4 separate regions of the Homo sapiens genome follow, and all the other regions are linked to region 1. The links are contacts of gene promoters, found by promoter capture Hi-C in human tissues and cell types (Jung and others, 2019). All regions are on one chromosome and are shown on one strand. Each heading gives the region's core, a stretch centred on a gene start or on the middle of the fragment in contact. The rest is flanking DNA. Distances are from core to core; before and after follow the strand shown.

The links. Contacts are between HindIII fragments. The study calls those that stand out against the background at their distance.
Region 2: a contact is called between a fragment that was not itself captured here and the fragment with the promoter of C1QTNF1-AS1 in region 1, in 1 of the 25 tissues and cell types used here (dorsolateral prefrontal cortex).
Region 3: a fragment that was not itself captured here is called in contact with the fragment with the promoter of C1QTNF1-AS1 in region 1 in 2 of the 25 tissues and cell types used here (mesendoderm cells and thymus).
Region 4: a contact is called between a fragment that was not itself captured here and the fragment with the promoter of C1QTNF1-AS1 in region 1, in 2 of the 25 tissues and cell types used here (liver and lymphoblastoid cells).

The regions. Positions count from the first base shown.
Region 1 is chr17:79,026,141-79,031,265 of GRCh38, reverse strand. It overlaps C1QTNF1-AS1 (C1QTNF1 antisense RNA 1), which reads left to right and starts at 3,611. Exons shown (of 3, transcript NR_040019.1): 1 at 3,611-3,890. The region is part of intron 1 of C1QTNF1 (C1q and TNF related 1); the gene reads right to left. The HindIII fragment of the contact is 4,721 bases long and covers 1-3,633 here.
Region 2 is chr17:79,355,138-79,360,262 of GRCh38, reverse strand. All of the region lies in intron 2 of RBFOX3 (RNA binding fox-1 homolog 3), which reads left to right. Among named protein-coding and RNA genes, the nearest start is that of RBFOX3, 250 kb to the left of the region's middle. The HindIII fragment of the contact is 4,584 bases long and covers 302-4,885 here.
Region 3 is chr17:79,314,095-79,319,219 of GRCh38, reverse strand. All of the region lies in intron 2 of RBFOX3 (RNA binding fox-1 homolog 3), which reads left to right. Among named protein-coding and RNA genes, the nearest start is that of ENGASE, 240 kb to the right of the region's middle. The HindIII fragment of the contact is 6,078 bases long and covers 1-5,109 here.
Region 4 is chr17:79,289,674-79,294,798 of GRCh38, reverse strand. The region is part of intron 3 of RBFOX3 (RNA binding fox-1 homolog 3); the gene reads left to right. Among named protein-coding and RNA genes, the nearest start is that of ENGASE, 220 kb to the right of the region's middle. The HindIII fragment of the contact is 8,478 bases long and covers 1-5,125 here.

The DNA of each region.
Region 1 (5,125 bases), core at 2,362-4,861:
TGGGAGGCCGAGGCAGGCAGATCACGAGGTCAGGAGATGGAGACCATCCTGGCTAACATGGTGAAACCCCGTCTCTACTAAAAATACAAAAAATTAGCCGGGCGTGGTGGCAGACACCTGTAGTCCCAGCTACTTGGGAGGCTGAGGCAGGAGAATGGCATGAACCTGTCAGGTGGAGCTTGCAGTGAGCCAAGATCATGCCACTGCACTCCAGCCTGGGCGACAGTGCAAGACTCCATCTCAAAAAAAAAAAAAAAGAAAAGAAAAGAAATAATATGGAGGGACTGGGGAGCAGAATCAGCCAGCAGCACCAGTTAGGCGTCTCTGTAAATAGGTGAATATTTACTGACATGGAAAGATGTTTGGGCCGGGCACAGTAGCTCACGCCTGTAATCCCAGCACTCTGGGAGGCCGAGGCAGGCGGATCGCTTGAGGTCAGGAGTTCAATATCATCCTGACCAACATGGTAAAACCCCGTCTCTACTAAAAAGTACAAAAATTAGCTGGGTGTGGTGGCGTGTGCCTAAAATCCCAGCTAGTCGGAAGGCTGAGGCAGGAGAATCGCTTGAACCCAGGAGATGGAGATTGCAGTGAGCTGAGATCACGCCACTGCCCTCCAGCCCGGACAACATAGCAAGACTCTGTCTCAAAAAAGAAAAAGAAAAGAAAAGAAAAAGAAAGGAAGGAAGGAAAAGAGAGAGAGAAAGAGAGGAAAGAAAGAAAAAGAAAGAAAGAAGAAAGAAAGAAAGAAAGAAAGAAAGAAAGAAAGAAAGAAAGAAAAAGAAAGAAAGAAAGAAAGAAAGAAAAGAAAGAAAGAAGAAAGAGAGAGAAAGTTTGTAAAGCAGTAATGAGTTTTGAAAATGCAGAATGAAAACATGCAGACCCAAACACACGCACATACAGGCACACACATACACATACACACACACACACACACACACACACAAAACCACAAAGACCCAAAGGCCACCCACCAGGCTGCCAACAGCAATTATCTGCGGTGATGAAAATACAGATGCTTACCATTTTCTTATTTTGGCCTCTCTGTTTCTTTCCCCTGTAACAGTCACGTCCTTTTTCACAGTAAGTACACATTATTTTCCACTAGAAAAATGACAAATAAGCCCCACCCTGGGGACTAAGGGAGCATTTTGTTTATTCCAGGAAACTCGACTAGATGCATAGAAGAGTAGGATGGGGAGAAAAGAGAGCTTGTTATATTGCATCGTTTGAGGCTCAAGCGGAACCACGGGGAATACAAGTTGACCTAGTGCTGAAGTCTCACGCTCTTTTGCTCATTTGTTCAACAGGTGTTTATTGAGTGTCTACTACCTACCCAGCAGGGAGCTGGATTCTTGGGACGAACGGAACAAGATGCCCTTTCCCTTGGGCAGTAGAGTCCCTGGCAGCTATGGTATGGGATGTGTTAGGACCAGGAACAGCACAGGTGGTAGGGAGCCCAGCAGGGTGGCACTTCATCCAGGCTGGAATTAGGCGAGCCAGAGAGAACCCGTTTCCTAGCAGTGAGGGGCTTTGTTCGTCTTTGGCCCTTGCTGTTGAAGGAGGCTGCCTGAGTAGGGCCGGTGGCCTGCAGCCGTGAAACAGAAGGAAACGGAGCCCCGTCCTGCAGCCCATCCTGTGCGTGATGTGCAATGGCCAGCATGTTCCTGGACCCAGGAGTAGCCCAATGTTTATCAGAGATTCCTTCTGACAAAGCCCCGCTACCCCTGAAAAGCCACCACTGAGAGCCAGACTCTGGCCATGGTGCCTTCCCTACACCACTGAGCTTGATCCTTAGAAAGCTTGATCCTTAGAATGCCTAATCCTTAGAATACCTGATCCTTAGAATGCGCAAACAGCCTCAGAGCGATGGAGCCGCTTGCCCCAGGTTCCACAGTGGGGAGGTGCTGGAGCTCAGATTAGACCTAGGTGTGTCCGACAGCAAAGCACATTACACTTCACCCCGAGGGGTGGCCAGAAAGATGCCAGAGAGCATAGGCTCCTCCTCCTCCCAAGCCATGGTGCAGCGACCGTTCCCGCCCACTGGGCTCAGGGTTACGGTGCCCACCAATTTGCTTACTTGTTTATAGGTGGAACCGCTGCAGCAGCCTTTGGCTTCGAGGACTGTATCCAGCAGCTGAGCCCTTGCATTCATCATTCAACAGAGGATTACCGAGTGCCCACTACATGCCAGGTATGGTATGGGGTACCAGGGAAACCTGTAACCATCTTCCTTGATGCAATGTGCTAAGATATCCCTGGTGCCAGCCTGCTAGCATCTTAAAATACACCACCGGAGTTTAATTCCTTTGGATTTAGGCACAGGATCACCAGGAACACCCGCGCGTGCATGCACACACACACACACACACACACACACACCTTAAAATGTGAGGGGCTTGGGCAGTGTGGCCCATCGGATGTGCATTTTTAGGGCACTGCTTTTGTAGGGTGAAGAGACACCAGCATGCTGGCAAGCTCTGAAGAAGGGAGGAAAAGACCCATGTGCTGGGGTACAGATGATTTTTCTCTCCCGACCAGTGCCCTCTAATGGGCACAAGCAGACCTGAGCTCTGAGTTGCAAAGGAATCTAAGTTCACGCACCACACGGGGAGGACCCTCAGGACCATGGGCCTTGCCCTCATTGATATCCTTTCATGGAGGAGGGGGCTCCCCTGAATGCCAGAGGACGCAAGAGACCTGTGGTCACCCCCTAACCCACCCAGATCCTTCCATCTCTCACTTTAGATTCTTTACAAGGAGAATGGGTCTAAGCGTTTTCTGAACACACCTCTGTCCCCAGCTCTGAAGACTGGCCCCAGGAACCTGTGGGCAGAGTCAGGGGGCCCTGCCCGCCTTCTGACCTACATCTGCCTCGAACCCACCCAGGGCTGGCAGCTTTCCCAGCAGCTTCCCTGCTCCCCAGGGCAGAGGGTGGCTGTTATCCAGATGTCTTGCTGAGGGGGATGGGTACAACCCAAAGCATAGGGTTTGGGGCATTCCACCAAGTGTGGCTTTAGCCGTGGCCAAGAACAACATTTGACCCAGCACAGGGCACCAAGAACTTGACTTCCCCATGCCCCGCCTGCCTGTCTGCCTCTTCTCCTCCTCCCCTCGACTCCTGCCTCCCTGCCTGCCGTCTCCTGCTCTACTCTGTCTCGTGTCAAGGAAAATTCCTACAGGAGCCAGGGAGATGGGCAGACACCGGCCCGGCCACAGCCGTCCCGACGGCCGTCCTGGACAGGATGGGGGCCCGGGGAGGGGCCTGCAGTCTGTGCCAGCCCCATCTGAAGCTGGAGAACGGCTTAGATCCAGGGGGCCTCAGAGGCAAGATAGCAGTGCCCTGGTGTACAGTGGGGACTGTGGGGGTCCCCGTGCCCCTGCTGGAGACCATCCCCCTTTGAACCACATTCAGATGCCAAGCCCAGCTCTGGAAATCAAATGTAGGCAAGAACAGGCAGCTGGAGGGGTGCTGATTTGCCAAGAGCCACTCATATCACCCCAGCACAAGTGTCACACAGCCGTGACCTTGACAAGGACCCAGAGATAAAGATCCTTCCCACATGGCTCCGAAGCCCCTCCCTTCCTGCTCACACCGCATGCCTCTCCCAGAGAACTAGAGGCTGCAGCGGCAGCAGTTGGAGCATCTCACTGCGGGGCTCGGGAAGGAGGAAAGGAGTGAGCATGTCCTGCTCCTGCATGTCCCTGCTTAAGCTCAGGACTGGCCCTTCCAGGCCAAGGACCCCAGCATAGACCCCAGGACAGGGCCCCAAGGATCCCTGGCTCATGAGAGCGGCTTGCTGGGCTGCCCCAAGAGAGCCTGAAGGAAACACATTGTTGAGCTGAGCTGACGTCGCTGTTTCTTCCAGACTGCTCTCTAAAGTGGGCAGGTGAGTTCTTGCCCTGTATGAAGGGGTCAGGGAGATGGCAGGGTCCTGTCCAGAGAGCTGCCTTGTGCCATTTGACACCAGCAGGCCAATTTCAGCAGGTTAACAGGGGAAATGGCAACCTGTGGCCCATGAGGGAGTGCCCCCACTTGAACATCTCTAGAGGCTACTGATTGTCAGGCAGAGGTGGGATCGTCCAGGGGATGGTGTAACCTGCTACTTCTTCCTGCCCTTCCTGGTGTCCGTCACCCCCACCCCTTCCCTAAGGTTCTGGAGCCTCAGCCACAGCCCCCCCCCGCCCAGGAACAGGGACCCCTGAGGACAAGACACAAATGGGAAGCTCCAGTCCCTGCGCACAACTGTATCTATGAAATTCTTTTCATCTTTGTTTTGATGAGCAAAGTTCAATGCCAGAATATTTGGTTTATGAGTCATGCTAATTACAGCTGGGGGGAGGCACCAGGAAGAAGAACAGAAAGGAGCATGTTCCAAAAACACTCTGTTGTCCTGGTTGCCCTGAAAAGGGGGGTCACTTCCTAGGAACAAGGAGGGAACCCATGGCCTTCCTGGGACAGCTTGGGCTTTCTCTGCTCCTACTTGGGAGGACGTCCCTCGCCAGCTGGCTGCACCTGCCTGGGAGGGGCAGTGGTGTCCTGTAGCCGCACAGCGCCCACCTAGGGCTTCCTGCACCATGCTTCCTGCCTCCCTGAATGAGCTCACTGGGGACACCACCCTTGGCAACACAAGAGGAGGAGAGGGAGGCGGGAGGAGAAGTAGAGAGTCCCTGGGTAGCGGACCTGTGTCCTTCCTGCCCCTGGGCATTCTCTGTTAGCAGCTGGGAGAGAGAAGTTCCCAGCATCAGCTTGGCGAGCTGAGTGCCATGTTCCCAACACCAGATAGGAAGGTTAAAAGTATACGCCCCGGAGGCCAGGCGCGGTGGCTCACCCCTGTAATCCCAGCACTTTGGAAGGTTGAAGCGGGTGGATCACTTGAGGTCAAGAGTTTGAGACCAGCCTGACCAACAGGGTGAAACCCAGTCTCTACTAAAAATACAAAATTAGCCAGGCGTGGTGGTACACACCTCTAATCCAGCTACTTGGGAGGCTGAGGCAGGAGAATCGCTTGAACCTGGGAGGTGGAGGTTGCAGTGAGCCGAGATTTGGCCTTGCACTCCAGCCTGGATGACAAAAGCGAAACTCTGTCTCAAAAAAAAAAAGAAGCATATGACGCACTTGGGA
Region 2 (5,125 bases), core at 1,344-3,843, 330 kb before region 1:
CTTTTGTTGGTTGCTTCAGATATCGATATCGTTGTAAGGGTGGGAAGCTGGGCTAGCTGGCCACACCCCTAAAAACCTCCAGTACCATGAAGTATTTTTGTTTCATGAGCACAGCATGCTTGCTATGTTTCATGAAGTTAAGGTGCATGGAGGTCGGAAAGAGAAAAGGCAAACACCCAGTCATAAGGACACTGAATACCAACATGAAAAAAAAAATAAAGAAACATCAATGACCTAGGCCGGGCATGGGAGCTCACGCCTGTAATTCCAGCACTTTGAGAGGCCAAGGCAGGAGTATTGCTTGAGCCCTGGAGTTCGAGATCAGCCTGGGCAACAGAGCCAGACCCCCTGTCTACAAATAATACAAAAATTAACCAGGCATGGTGGCGTGCACCTGTAGTCCTTGCTGCTCAGGAGGCTGAGGTGGGAGGATCACTTGAGCCCAAGAGTTTGAGGCTGTAGTGAGCTTTGATCACCACTGCACTCCACCCTGAGCAACAGAGTGAGACCCTATCTCAAAAAAAAAAAATGACCCAAATTACGAAGTGCAGGAGATAGTCAAACCTGGCAGAGCCACCAAGAGGCCCCTGCAGAGCCAGCCCTCCCTGGAGCCCCATCCTATGGTCCTGCCTTAGTCGGGGTGGAGAGGTGGGTGATTTTCTCTTCTCTTCCAAGGAGTGTCTGCTAAATTGTTCAAATGTGATTGGCCTGTCTGGGTGCAGAGATTAGGAGCCAGCGGGGAGGCAGGTGCCGTGCCCTTCCTTCGAAGGCTATGCCTCACCTTCAGCAAAATATGCTCTTTGGAATTTGTGGGGGAGGATGTGGAGAGTAGCTTGCTAGATAAAATAAAGGCTGCTCAGTTAAATCTGAATTTCAGATTAACAATGAATAGTGTTTAGTGTAAATATGTTCCATGCCATATTTGAGATAGACTAGTACTACAAATTATTTGTTGTTTATCTGAAACTCAAATTAAGCTGCATATCCTGTATTTTTCTTTGCTAACACTGGCAGCCCTGGGGAGGGGCGGGGTAGGCGCTGCAGTCAGCCAAGCCCCTCAGCTCTTGCCCTGAGCCTGTGGGGTCATTAAGAGGTGGATTAGGGATACGTTTAAATCCGTCTAACCCATTTGAATCTTACTTCCTCACTCATAAAATACAGTTGTAGAGAGGATTACAGGATGTGTTGATGGATACACCTGGCCTGGTGCAAACCCACCCATGGAAGTTTCCAGTGCTCTGTGCCTCCCTGGGCTGGGTGTGGGGCAGGGGGCAGCTTCCCTGTGCCACTCGTGGTGTCTGCTCTGCGCGAGCCCTCTGGGGGCACTTGGGAAAAGAGGGAAGGATACTTTGTTCTGGTTCCCAAGTGGCTCTCGAGCAATTGGCAGGAAGGTAGAGCTGATACACATGAGAAACCCAGGGATCCTGATGGCGAAATGGAATGGCCACACCCTGTGTTGGAAACACTGCCTGTGACTATAACTCAGAAAAGAGAGAGAACCAGGCCGAGCACGGAGGCTCACACCTGTAATCCCAGCACTTTGGGAGGCCAAGACAGGCAGATCACCTGAGGTCAGGAGTTCGAGACCAGCCTGGCCAACATGGTGAAACCCCTTCTCTACTAAAAATACAAAAATTAGCCAGGCGTGATGGTGCACACCTGTAATCCCAGCTACTAGGTTGACTGAGGCAATGGAATTGCTTGAACCCGGGAGGTAGAGGTTGCAGCAAGCCGAGATCATGCCACTGCACTCCAGCCTGAGTGACAGGGCAGAACTCCATTTCAAAAAAGAGAAAAAGAAAGAAAAGAAAAATGAGAGGAAGTGTAGACTTGAGGGGTTTCATGGAGGAGGTGGGATTTTGCCTGAGTCAGAAGGGAGGGCAGTGTGCCGATGGTGGGGTCTCCCCACGGCGTGAGCATCCTCGCCAGTGCTGGGGAGGGGAAGACGGCTCTAGCTCACTACCTTCCCCCTTGTGCCTGTTGTTAGGTCCCAGAGGGATGAAAAATAGCTTCTTTGGGGCCAGGCACACTGGTCACACCTGTAATCCCAGCACTTTGGGAGGCCAAGGCAGGAGGATCTCTTGAATCCAGGTGTTTGAGACCAGCTTGGGCAACATAGGTGGACCCTGTCTCTACAAAAAATATAAAAATTAGCTAGGCTGGTGGTGTGTGCCTGTGGTCCCAGCCACTTGGGAGGCTGAGACAGGAGGGTTGCTTGAGCCCAGGAGCCCAGGGTTATGATGAGCTATGAATGTGCCACTGTACTCCAGTGACAGAGCAAGATGCTGTCAATAATAATAATATATAATAATAATAATAATAGCTTGTTTGGGATCTGGTAAGTGGAAGTTACTTAAATACTAAAGTAAAAAAAAAACTTCAATTTACTGATTTTTTAAAAAAATGAACTTAATTGGTAAACATTTGTATTGACTTGGAAAGCAGTAAATAAAAAAAAAACACCCTTGAGGTAACAAAATATTTCTCTGTCTTTTTACAAATTCAACAAACGCACTTCATTCTTCACCACCCCCCTATACCGCCCCCCTGCGCTTTAAACTCTTGCCTTTTCATTTAGCATGAGGAGTGAAGTCGTCTTTCAGAGTTTGTTTTTTGTTTGTTTGTTTGTTTTGAGACAGAGTTTTGCTCTGTCGCCCAGGCTGGAGTGCAGTGGTGCAATCTCGGCTCACTGCAACCTCCACCTCCTGGGTTCAAGTGATCCTCCTGCCTCAGCCTCCCAAGTAGCTGGGACTACAGGCGTGCGCCACCACACCCAGCTAATTTTTTTTATATTTTTAATAGAGACAGGGTTTCACCATGTTGACCAGGCAAGTCTCAAGCTCCTGACCTCAGGTGATTCACCTGCCTTGGCCTCCCAAAGTACTGGGATTACAGGCGTGAACCACAGCTCCCAGCCTCTTTCAGAGTTTTTTAAACATTGGAATGAAGCTTTACTTTTGCTCCTGGCTAGTGTTTGTTTTGTTTCGTTTTTGGGCAGCTTACAAGTGGCGCTCTTTCTGCTTAAAGGCGAGTGTGCTCATGTGCAAGCACAGACACTCTACATGTGCGTACAGCCTGCTTGTGTTTGCGTTTTAGGATGTGTGTGCAAGAGCAGCAGCCACAGCACCCGGGGAGGCCGAGTTTGTCACCAGCGGGTGTGGGCGTGTCTGGGGCCCCCGTGGGGCTAGGACAGAGCAGGAATGCCACATGGAGGGCACCGGCTCCCCAGTTGTCACTGCCGAGTCTCTGTTGTGAGTGCTCAGGGGGACACTTTAGGACATAGCTTCTCAAGCAAGAGGTGGGTAGCCAAGTGTCCCATCTCAGTGCCACTGGGAGGCTCAGCCCGACAGGAGCTGGCTGAGGGGGACGGAGTTGCAGCAGGGGCAGTGGCTGGCCCAGGCAGGCCCGGCTGCACTTTTGACACCTTTGTAACTGCAAGGTGAAAACTGACTTTTCATGATTCTTCCCAACAAATTCTTACCTTTGGTCTCTCTCTGGACATATTTTAGGAAAGAAATTATTTCCCAAATAGTTATTCACACCTATCACTAAATTATGTCCTTCTCTGATGGCATAAAAAAAAAAATCAAAACTGGCTGGGCACAGTGGCTCATGCCTGTAATCCTAGCACTTTGGGAGGCCAAGGTGGGTGGGTCACCTGAGGTCAGGAGTTCAAGACCAGCCTGGCCAACATGGTGAAACCCTGCCTCTAATAAAAATACAAAAATTAGCTGGACATGGTGTCAGGCACCTGTAATCCCAGCTACCTGGGAGGCTGAGGCAGGAGAATCGCTTGAACCTGGGAGGTGGAGCTTGCAGTAAGCCAAGATTGTGCCACAGCACTCTAGCCTGGGTGACAGAGTGAGACTCCTCCTCAAAAAAAAAAAAAAAAAAAAAAAAAAAAAAAAAAAAAACTTCCCTGTTTTAAAAGTGAAAAAGTACGTGCCTCACGGCAGAGGTACCTTGGCATTGCCCAGGTGGGATCAAGTGCCTCCTCTCTCCCCCACCCCGTCTGCAGGAGGGTCTGCAAGTATGTCCTGCTCCTGGGAGAACATGCCTCTCCAAGTTTCACAAGCAGGAACATTCAGGCAGCAGGCAGGACCGACGTCAGCTCAAGTTCTTGCCAAAAGTCAAGAGCCAAGAACACTTGAGCTTAGACTTCAGTTGGGGTGAACGCCCCAAAGCACATCCCCACATTCATGCTCTAATTCAGGAGAGGGGAAAGAGTTTATACAGACGCAGTGATATTTGGAGTTAGGAGTGAGCCAGATGTCAGACTATGGAAATTACCTAAGTCACATATTACATAAGGATGTCAAACATTTAGCAGAGCTGGAATTTTCCTTGCACTTACAAGAAACATAATTTCTAAAAAGCAGTTCGGCCAGGCACGGTGGTTCACGTCTGTAATTCTAGCACTTTGGGAAGCTAAGGCAGGTAGATCACCTGAGGTCAGGAGTTCAAGACCAGCCTGGCCAACATGGTGAAATCCCATCTCTACTAAAAATTAAAACATTAGCTGAGCATGATGGTGTGAGCCTGTTATCCCAGCTACTAGGAAGGCTGAGGCAGGAGAATTGCTTGAACCTGGGAGGTGGAGGTTGCAGTGAGCTGAGATCAAACCACTGTACTCCAGCCTGGGCAACAGAGCAAGACTCCGTTTCGGAAAAAAAAAAAAGCAATTAATTCACAGGCTTGGGGTATATTCAGCTTTTAGTTTCTAACATGCGTTGAACTCAGGGGTTCAGGAGCAGGTGGCTTCCCAGGCAGCAGGACCTGGAGAGGCTGGAGGGGAGCTGCCTCTGCCACCATCGCCCGGGGCCACTTGGCTTGGGTACAAGCATTGGAAACGGGGGCGGGTATCCCACGCAGAGAGGAAATGCTTGCCTGGCAAAGTCAATGGAGTTGTGCCCCAGTGGCTGAAAACAGAAGTCAGCCTGCTCTGCAAACAACACGTCTCCCCAGAGCCCTCGATACGTTCTGCAGGCTTCACATGCTTGTTCAGAGCCAAAGCCTTGATGCCTTTCCTCGGAAGAACTTTCTTCTTAGGGAGAGTCAGCTCTGAACAGGGACCCCCGACCCCACAAGTGCCGAACCCCGTGTTAAATGTTAAATGTGTTAAGTT
Region 3 (5,125 bases), core at 821-3,320, 290 kb before region 1:
TTTGTAACAGGAAAGAAAAGCAGGAAAAACCGTCTGGGAAGTAGGTGACCTAAAAAACAACCACCTGACTATAATGAAATCCGCTTTTCCAGTGGGCTGCCTCCGGGAAAGCCACATCCGGTGCTGGCTTCCTTTCCCTCCGCCCACCCTCATGTCTTCCCTCCTTCCACAGTCAAATTTCTTTTTTTTTTTAATTATTGTACTTTAAGTTTTTGGGTACATATGCACAACGTGCAGGTTAGTTACATATGTATACATGTGCCATGTTGGTGTGCTGCACCCAGTAACTCATCATTTAACATTAGGTATATCTCCAAATGCTATCCCTCCCTCCATCCCTTTTTTTTTTTTTTTTTTTTTTTTTTGAGATGGAGTCTCGCTCTGTCACCCAGGCTGGAGTGCAGTGGCGCAATCTCGGCTCACTGCAAACTTTGCCTCCCGGGTTCACACCATTCTCCTGCCTCAGCCTTCCAAGTAGCCGGGACTGCAGGCGCCCACCACCACACTCAGCTAATTTTTTTGTAATTTTAGTAGAGACAGGGTTTCGCCGTGTTAGCCAGGATGGTCTAGATCTCCTGACCTCGTGATCCACCTGCCTCAGCCTCCCAATGTGCTGGGATTACAGGCATGAGCCACCGCACGTGGCCCCACAGTCAAATTTCAACATCCAACTCTTAGTATGAAATTTGCCAGTAAGACCTCTCATTAGGCAAATCATGAAACCCTCACCACTATGGTATGGCTGAGACCGTTGCTCAACTGCATTGCTGAGAGGGGGAGCCATATGGTGTAAGGGGTGGTGGCTATGAAGATAAAGTGGGGAGATTTGCTGCTGTTTGTATTTCCCAGACCTCCCCAGCTCCTCTGCCCCCAGCAGTTTCATCTCCTGGGTTTTGGCTCAGCAGCATCCTCCGTGCTGGAGTTTTGGGTGAAGCACACAGACCTCCTTCTCCTCTTCCCTCCTTGCTGGACTTCTTGGCTGCTGGCTGAGCAAACACCACCCGGAGCATCCAGATCTTCAGGCCCAAAATGCTCCTGTTCCACTCATGATAGGAATCAGCCATCACCATGGCAAGGGCTCCGGCTGACACCTCCCCAGTTGTAAGCTCTGTCTACTCAGCAACTTTGTCAGCAGCAGCCAGGCAGTTTAGGAGATGAGGCCTGAGTAACAAGGGGCTGGAGGTTTTTCCCAATCCACAGACAGTTTTTTTAAAGGGGGTAAAGACATTTCTAGAAATGATGAAGCGGCAAGCTTAACTTCCATTCCTAGAAAAATAATCATGAAACCGACAACTCAAGATAGGGAAGTTAGCATGTTACTTGAGAATTGTCCTGCTCACATAAAGAACAAGATTTGCCAGCCAGATCGAATCTCTTTGCCTGCCGAGTGATGGCCCAGGTAGACAAGGTGGCACCCTTAGGTTCACCATGGCCTCATCGAACATTGCAACTTTTTTTTTTTTAAGATTGTGATTCTTACATAACAAGTGCCTAAAGTACCTACTAGTTACCTGGAAAGCAGCTAGTTAATTAGTGGAAGCCAGAGTTTAGGGATTCCTTGCCAATTTGCAGACAATTTCAAGTCTGTGTTTGTCCCCTTTGAGTTTGAGACCACGTCCAGGGGAGAAACATCCCCTTCACTAGAAGGCCCTGCCACGGGCATCGGTGCTGCTGCCAGTGCCTGCTCAGGACTCAATTGCCAGCAGAACCCTCCAGGGTGGACCCAAACCACCAGCCTCTGTGTGGAAGCCAGATGTGCTCACCCTGAGCCCCACAGGTGAACCCTGGTGAGGCTGAACCCGTGGGGGCTTCACCAGCTCAAATCTGCGTCTTTGTTCTGAGGTCCGTGTGGGTCTGAGCCAAGGCCATTGGCCTGACTGCAGAATCAATAGCAACTTCCTTATGGCCGTTCTGTTTGAAAAGAAACATCTAAAATTTGATGTATTGGGTCTGGTTTGGTGGAAAGAGTGCAGACTTTGGAATACGAATGAACTGGGTCTGCAATTTCAGCCGGGCCATATGCTGACTGTGTGGCCTTGAGAAAGTGGCAATTGGAGCCTGCACCTCTTTGTCTGAATGAGGGGGGTGGCCGTGGGGGAGATGGGAGGAGTGTTCCATGAGGGAGCATATGGGAAATGCCAGCTCCTTGTCGGTCTTCATGGAGGGTCAGCTCCTTTCTTTGAAGGATGTGTATGTGCACGTGTCCGTGCACATCTGTGTGTGTGCGTGCACATGCACATTTGCGGGTGAGTGTGCATATCTTGTGTGCAGGCATATGTGCACCTGTGTGTGTTTAGCCTGGGTAATCAGGCAGTTGGAAGCTAGGGCTGCCAAATAAAAACACAGGGTGACTGGTTAAATGTGAATATCAGATAAGCAATGAAAAATTAATATAAGTACTTCCCAAATATTGCATGGTATGAACTTATACTAAAACAATGAAAACATTATCTGTTATCTGAAATTTCTAATTTAACTGCATATCCAGGGGTTTTATTTCCTAAATGTGGAAACTGTCACTGGAATGAGGTTTGCTATTTCGGCTGTAAGATTAGGCCCACAAAAGCAGATGTGCAGGGGTCTGGGGCCGTGGTGGCCTTGTGGGGAGGGGCTCTGGGAGGAAGGACACAGGCTGTGTGGCCCAGGCTCCTCATTTTGCTCAAGACCTCCCTTCCCTTTCTCACGTTTGGAGCTCCTTCCATTGCATTGAGCAGAGCGACGAGCTGCCCACATCCTGAGTAACAGTCCCTGGCTGGGAGCAGAGGTGGGAGCCATCGCCCCTGCCCAAGGAGGGCTGCCCACAACTCAGGTGGGCCCTGAGTCTGTACTGAGCTGGACAGCACCGACCACAGCCTGCTGGCCTGGCCCCATCTACATGCTGGCCTGGGCTTGGGGTGGTGTTCTCTGGAAACTTCTCTGTTTGTTTCATGGGTGACGTTCGATCTTCCCGAAACAGGATCCTGCAGAGTTCAGAGCACCTGCCAGACAGTCACAAAGCCACTGCATGGCCTCGTCCTCAGCCCCAGCCCCTCCACCCTCCACCATCACCAGCCACCCCTTCTCCTCTTCCGCGCAGCCTCTCCCGCCCTCTCCAATTTTTACTTGGCAAATTATACCCTGGTGCTCCCAGCCTGCTCAGTGGGTGCTGTCGAGCCTTGGCAGATTCCAGTGCCAGCAGCAGGGGGCACAGATACTTGCAAAGGGGAACTAATAGGGAATGAAATAGCTTTCCTCCCCCAAAGACCCCTCCCAGAGCTGCTGGCGGACCCACCCCTTGCGGAGTGAATTGTTTCCAATCCAATCTCGTGTTTATTGAAGTTTCCTCCAGGGTTAGCTCGGGAGGCCTCTCCCCAGCCCCTTCCGCGTGGCCTTATTTACCAGAATCCCCTCGGCGCGCCATTTAAGCGTCTCCATTAACATTTCCTGCATCTTGCTCATTGCAAGCAAGGCCCTCAGAGACCCCCAGGGTGGCGGCACGGGCGGCAGCCCGCAGAAACGCCAGGCTTATTTTAATTGGTTTGAAACTGTCGCTGTCGACCACAGAGGGGTCCCTTTCCTTGAGTAATGACCTGGAATTTGATCACGTGGCTTTTATGAGCTTGTAACACTGAAAGTGTAACCGTGTGAGATCAAAGCAAGGACCAGGGTGCACATCTGTCTGGCCGCAGTGGCCAGCAAGTGTGAAGGCGCGGCCTGGGAGACACCGCTCTTCCCCTACCCCTGCGGGTCCCATCTGTCGGGGGATGGGAGAGGTGGCTCTTTTCACGTCCCCTCTGACTTCCTTGTCGGCCTGCAGATGGTGGTGTGAGAAGAGGGAAAAGCCGCCTCTGCATCCAGCACTTTCTGGCCTCCTTCTCGGTATGGAGAATGCTTTGCTCAGAAGACCAGGGTCTGGGTCCCCAGAGAGAAGGATGCAGGGGAGCCTACCTCCTGGAGACATGGATGGTCTAGAGTCTGGAGGCCATCACTAGGGATGAAATGGTTTTACTTCCTCTTGGGAAGTGGCTCCCTCCGGAATCACTCCATCGTGTACGTCATCCATTTACTTGGTCGTCAGGCCACCAGCCGGTGAGATTCTACAGAGCCACTAATCATAGAAAACACTGTGCTTTGACACCAGCTTTGTGTCACGCATGTATAATCAGGGTCTCTCACTCCTGCAGCGGGCCATCAATCTAACCATGCTCGTCTCAAAAAATTTTTGGAGAATTTTTATAATTAAGGTAAAAGATAAATATCTATCCTCCTCTACCTGCAATTAACAATAACTAACACTTTGTTCTCTTGCATTAGTCTTAAAAAAAAAAAAAAAAGGAAGGATCACAGACAAAGTCCAAGTCCCCTCCAGCACACCCAGCCCCGTTCCCCTCCCCTACACCCAGAGGCCGCTCTGAGCATCGATTTGGCATCTATTATTTCTGTCCCTTGAGAAAAACATTTATACACACATGTAAGCGTGGACCAGAGCTCACACTGTTTTATGTCTTCTTCAAATGCACATGCATGGCCTCTTCCTGCAACTCACCTCTTTGACTGAACATGGTTTCTGCAGCTCTGGTGTGTTTCTGATACGTTCCTTTTATCTACTGTGGAGAATCTGACTTAGAAACCTGCCCCATTTTCTTTGTCCACTCTTTCATTCATGAAACTCCCAGTGGTTTGCAAAGTGCAGCTATTTCAGAGAATGCCGAGTGAGAGTCTTGGTGGCTGTCTCCTGTCTCAGGCGTGGACCTGGCTGTGAGTGGCCGATCTTGTCCAGGTCCTGCGAGGCCATCTGCACCTGCCTATCCCACCAGCTCCGTATGCGATCTCAGTCTCCTCCCAGCATCACTGATGCTGAGGCCGATCGTTCTCACTGTGCCCACGAGAGAGCCCAGCTCTGGTGTGTTGTGTTTGTTGGAGCTGCCTGACTGCCATGCCTCTCTCCTCTGCTTCTCAGCAGGTTTGGGGGTCCTGCACACTCCCAGGGAGCCATGGTTACCCCAGCTCCTACTTTGTCACTCGGGAAAGCAGCCTGCACCTCAGAAAGATTTAGAGCAAAACGTAAAGCCCTTTTAGTAAAAAAACAACAAGAGTGACCCATTCAGAAACTTTTGGGCTTTCTTGTTAGACCCCATTGTCTGTA
Region 4 (5,125 bases), core at 1,564-4,063, 260 kb before region 1:
GCTGTTTCCAGGTGATAAATGTGTGTCCCGTGAGGCATGGGGCAGAGCTGAACCAAGGCCTCCTCCACGTGGCCCCCAGTCCGGAGTTCGGCCGCGTGGCTGGCAGCGTCTCCCACCCGCAGGTCGCTGTCCGTGGTGCTGAACTCCTGCCTTCCCCCATTCCGCATCTTTCCTGTTTCTCCAAGAAGCAAAGGTATCTAGCGGGGCGTGGTGGCTCACGCTTATAATCCCAGTCGCGGCAGGCAGGTCATTTGAGGTCAGGAGTTCGAGACCAGTCTGGCCAAAATGGTGAAACCCTATCTCTACTGAAAATACAAAAAATTAGCTGGGCGTGGTGGCAGGCGCCTGAAGTCCCAGCTACTCGGGAGGCTGAGGCAAGAGAATGACTTGAGCCCGGAAGATGGAGGTTGCAGTGAGCAGAGATCACACCACTGTACTCCATCCTGGGAGACAAAGTGAGACTCCATCCACAAAAAAAAAGCAAAAGGTGTCTGCTACCGGAGTCCGGCACAGACACTCAAGGCTAGAACTGGGTGAAAGGTATGCCCCATCTAATCTGACGAACTTGCTCTCCAGTCCAGGATTCTGCTGAGGGATCTTAAGTGCAGATAAACTGTTAGGGAAGAGCAGCGGCTTGTTGGAGAGGAATAGAAAACTGGTTCACTTTGCTTTTCTGACTCTGTAAGGCAAGCAGGTGGCCCCAGTTGAAGAGCATAGTAGGCTGCAGTATGAATCTGCACCTGCTCTGTATGAATCTGTACCTGCTCTGGAAGTCGGACAGGTGACTCTGTGAGACTATGTCATTGCTTCCCCTGCCCTAGTTGACCCCATGCTGGCCGAGGCTCTTTCTCGGCCCTGTTTCATCTCTCCATCCTGTAATAGCAGCTGGGGCTTAAATCCTAACCAGAATGAGTCCCTGACAGCCTCCCTATATTTCTCTTCTCCTTCATCTGGCTTATTTGTGGACCTTGCCGCTGCTACAGGGCAGCCTTCCTGCTTATCTGTCAGCCCCCAAAGCAGCAGGTTATCTAAAGCAAGAATGGCTCAGGCTGGGCAAGTGGCTCATGCCTGTAATCCCAGCACTTTGGGAGGCCAAGGCAGGCAGATCACCTGAGGCCAGGAGTTCGAGACCAGCCCAGCCAACATGGTGAAACCCCGTCTCTACTAAAAATACAAAAATTAGCCAGGCATGGTGGTGCAAGTCTGTAATCCCAGCTACTCAGGAGGCTGAGGCAGGAGAATCACTTGAACCCAGAAGGTGGAGGTTGCAATGAGCCAAGATTGTGCCACTGCACTCCAGCCTGGGAGACAGAGTGAGACAGGAAGGAAGGGAAGGAAGGAAGGAAGGAAGGAAGGAAGGAAGGAAGGAAGGAAGGAAGGAAGGAAGGGGTGGAGGGGAGGGAAGGGAAAGGAAAGGGAGGGGAGGGAGGGGGAGGGGAGGGAGGCAGGGAAGGAAGGGAGGGAGGCAGGGAAGGAAAGAAGGAAGGAAGGAAGCAAAGATCGGTCTTGATGTGAGCAGCAGATGAGTAACTTGGAACATTTTTGTTGGCCCCATGTGGGCTTGAGCAGGTCACTTTACCCTCTAAATTCTCAGTTTTCTTACCTGTTAAACGGAGATAATGAGATGTGCTCTGTTGACCATCTAGGTCTGATGGAAGGGTCAAATGAGGCCATACTTTTAAGTGGCTTTGAAAAACTATGAAATATAATATACATATGAGGCATTACTAACAGTGGCACTGTAAAATAGAAGCAGTTCTCAGACTTTGGTCTGTGATGTTCCAGCCAAGCAAACTCTTCAGGGGCCTCTTTTCAAGGGGGATGGAAGGTGGGGGCAGGTATAAAAACCCCATAAAACCAAAGCAAAACCTCCAGGGAGGAATTGTCTTTTATACCAACTCCCAAAACAAAGGCCAAATTCCAAAACGAAGTCTGTTTGCTTCTTACTTTCCTAATATAAAGGGAATGGGTGATTTTTTCCCCCAAATGCAGTTTCATGTTGGTGAAATCAGAATACAACAGTAGGGTCTCTAGCGGCAGAATTGAGCGGAGGAAAGAAAGCAAAAGGATCTCTTCTAAGCATTTGGCATACTGCTGTTCCCTCATTACACAGCGAAAGCAGCCCATGCTGTCCTTCGCAGCATCAAACACTTCTAAGGGCAGTGCACTGGGTCTGCATGTATGTGTGTGTGTGTGTGCGTGTGTGTGTGTGTGCATGTGTGTGTGTGTGTGTACAGTGCCAACTGTAAGTGTGAGTGTAAACATGTTCCATTATAGACTAACATTTTAATTCCTTTTTTCAACCAGTATTCATTGAGAACCTTCCATGTGCCGGGGACATGCTAGTGACTGGTGCCACAGTCCCCTTGTCCCCTGGTTGCTCTTGGTTAGTGGGGAGACAGCACTGGTCCCCTGGTTGCTCTTGGTTAGTGGGGAGACAAGGAAGGCACAATAGAATAAATTCTATACTGGAGGCATGCGGGGTCCTGACACTCGTGGGGTCTGTGAAGATGCACACGAGTGGGATTTTCTCTGCCCTTCCTTACCCTGGTTTTGCTCTTAGTCCTCACCTGAAGCTGTTCTTCAGGTCCTGTGAAGTGTCCTGGCACCAGGCATCTCCTGGCTTCCTGTGGTTTTCAGGCAACCCCTCTATTACCACAATATGATTACTGGAAGATTCATAGTAATTCAGAGCAACCCCAAAATACTGATCACCAGAGAAAGCCCTGGAATGAGGGGTGGGGTAAATTGGTGAGAGAGCTCCGTGGCTGGCTTTGGGGGTCCTAAGCTACAGCATCTAAGTAGGGGTGGAGGCTGGCTGTAGTTAAACCCATGCCTCCAACCCAGGATTGAGACTTGGGCGTTGTGAAATTCAAGGTTCAGCTCCGTGGTGAAGCTTTTGTGTTGGAATTAGCTAAATCATGTGGCGCCCTAGTTTCTCATAGCCAACCTGCAAAGGTAGTTCCCTTGCTTGCTCCTGAACAGAGGGGAACCACATGAGGTCATCTAGAAAGGCTCCAAGAGTTGCCAGGGGAGAGGGGCTGTGTACTCTCTGTGTTCTGTGAACGCAGGGGCTCTTCCACACTGCTGCCTGTCCCTGAGAACAGAGATCAAGGCAGACTTCAGAGAAAACTCCCTGTTTGGTCCTGCCTCCCTGGGCAGTGAGCCATTCCGGCTCTGCAGACCCTGTTACTGATGCAATAAGGGACTGTGAGGCTCAAGGGGTGGATGCATGACACAGGGTTCTGAGTGTGCCCTCAGCCCCATTCTTCCTGCCCAGGGGAGGAGCATCCCTGACCAAGAGCTTTTGCAAGACTTCAATAAATCCCCACACTTGAAGCCGAGGGCTGCAGATTCCTACTGTATTTAATGTCAGCTCCATGCAGACCAGCCAACTGAACACAGCCTCATAGCAACTTTCTTATCTCTCACACTGTAACCTAGCTGATGGAGCTACCCCAGAATCCAAAATGTGGCACCGCAGAGCGAGCTCTCGCTCTTTTCCCCACACCCAGGGCACATCTGAGAGAGAAAATAACCTCACAAAGAATGCTCCATTGATCCTATGGTTTAATGCCCTGGCCATCAGAGTTGACATTTATGCTATTAATTTTAAAACATGTCATTTCTTCTCTATAAACTTTGACTCATTTTTGACCCACTAAATAACTTTCTTCCTCAACTGCAGGCTGGCATTTTATCATGGTCTTTCTTTCCTCCAGCCCCCAACACCACACCTTTCATTTGCCTTTCCTCTCCCAAAGTCCCAGGAGAGGGGTGGGAAGCACTGGGAGAGGTTAGGCAAGCTAATCCTTCCAGAAAGGCAGAGAGCCACGCAGGCTGAGCTGAGCTGAGCTGCCTGCTGCAGCTGCCCCTCGCCCCAGCAGATTCCAATCCAAGCACACAGCTATTTCTGGGAGAACGCAGCCAGGGTGTCAAGGGCAGAGTGGCCAGGGCTGAGGGCATGGAAGAATTGATTTTGTGTGTAAGGTAGAGCCTCTCCAGCCACCAGTCAGCAAACCCAGAGGAGAAGCCTCTGGAGGCTCGATGAGATGTATGTAACTATGCCTGTCCGTCTGCCTTGTCAGAAATGATTGCTTCTCTGATTTTGGTAAACATTCATCCTAAATATCATTTATTTCCCTCGGGCCTGACCTCAGAAGGCCCTTAGCAAGGGTCACGTGGGTCAACCTCAGACTCCATTTGCTAACTGCTAGCTCTCAGAGCCCTTCCCTTGGCTATACCGAGAAGGGACGTGGCAACGGCAGGCATGTGTTGAACCACTTCCCAGGCACCAGGCATGAGGCGAAGAGCCACACATAGGCTGTGCTTTCGGGTCCTCATGGGAAGCCCATGACACCGTCACAGCATATGGAAAATCACGAATCTCTACTTTCCAGATGGGGAAAATGAGGCCCTTAGAGGCTCGATGGCTTACCCGGGCCCACACAGCTAGCAAGGACTCCAACCCAGCTGGCTCACCCCAGAGCCTGCATTCCTAGCCACGAGCCATCCTGCCTCTCATTCCTTCCTTCCCTTTTCCTTTGCCATCTTCATGGGCCTCCCAAGAGGCCTCCTTCACAAGGCTCTATGATGCCTCCTCCAGCTTGAGAAGGTTCCCCTTCCAGACATGTGTGTCTCACACTGGTATGTGAGGACCCCCCTACAGCATGTGCTTGTCTCCCACCACCTGCCTGCCCTCCAAGGAGCTTCCAGTGCCTGAAAAACTTCTGCTCACCCCTTCAGACCCCCTGGGCATCTTGCTTCTCCTCCACCTTCTGTCTGAACCCTCTGGGAACTCACCTGTTGGAGGTGTGTCTGTTTGGAGGCAAGGGCCTGTTTCCCTTTCATCCATTTTAGGGGTAGGGTTGGAGCAGTCCCTGGCCACCCAGTGTTATTAGTTATAGCCCAGTGTTATTAGTTATTTTTAGCAATCAATGTTATTGATGTCATGTTCACTACAGAAAGCCACCAGAGAGCTGTTCTTCCAACTCATTACATTTAGAGTTGAACTATCCCCTTTTTATATAAATCCTGACACATAAAGATAAAATACGCCACTTTCTGGGGGAAGCTCTAAACCAGAGGCCAGGAGCTGGGAGGCAGCTTTGAGTGCAGGAAGCAG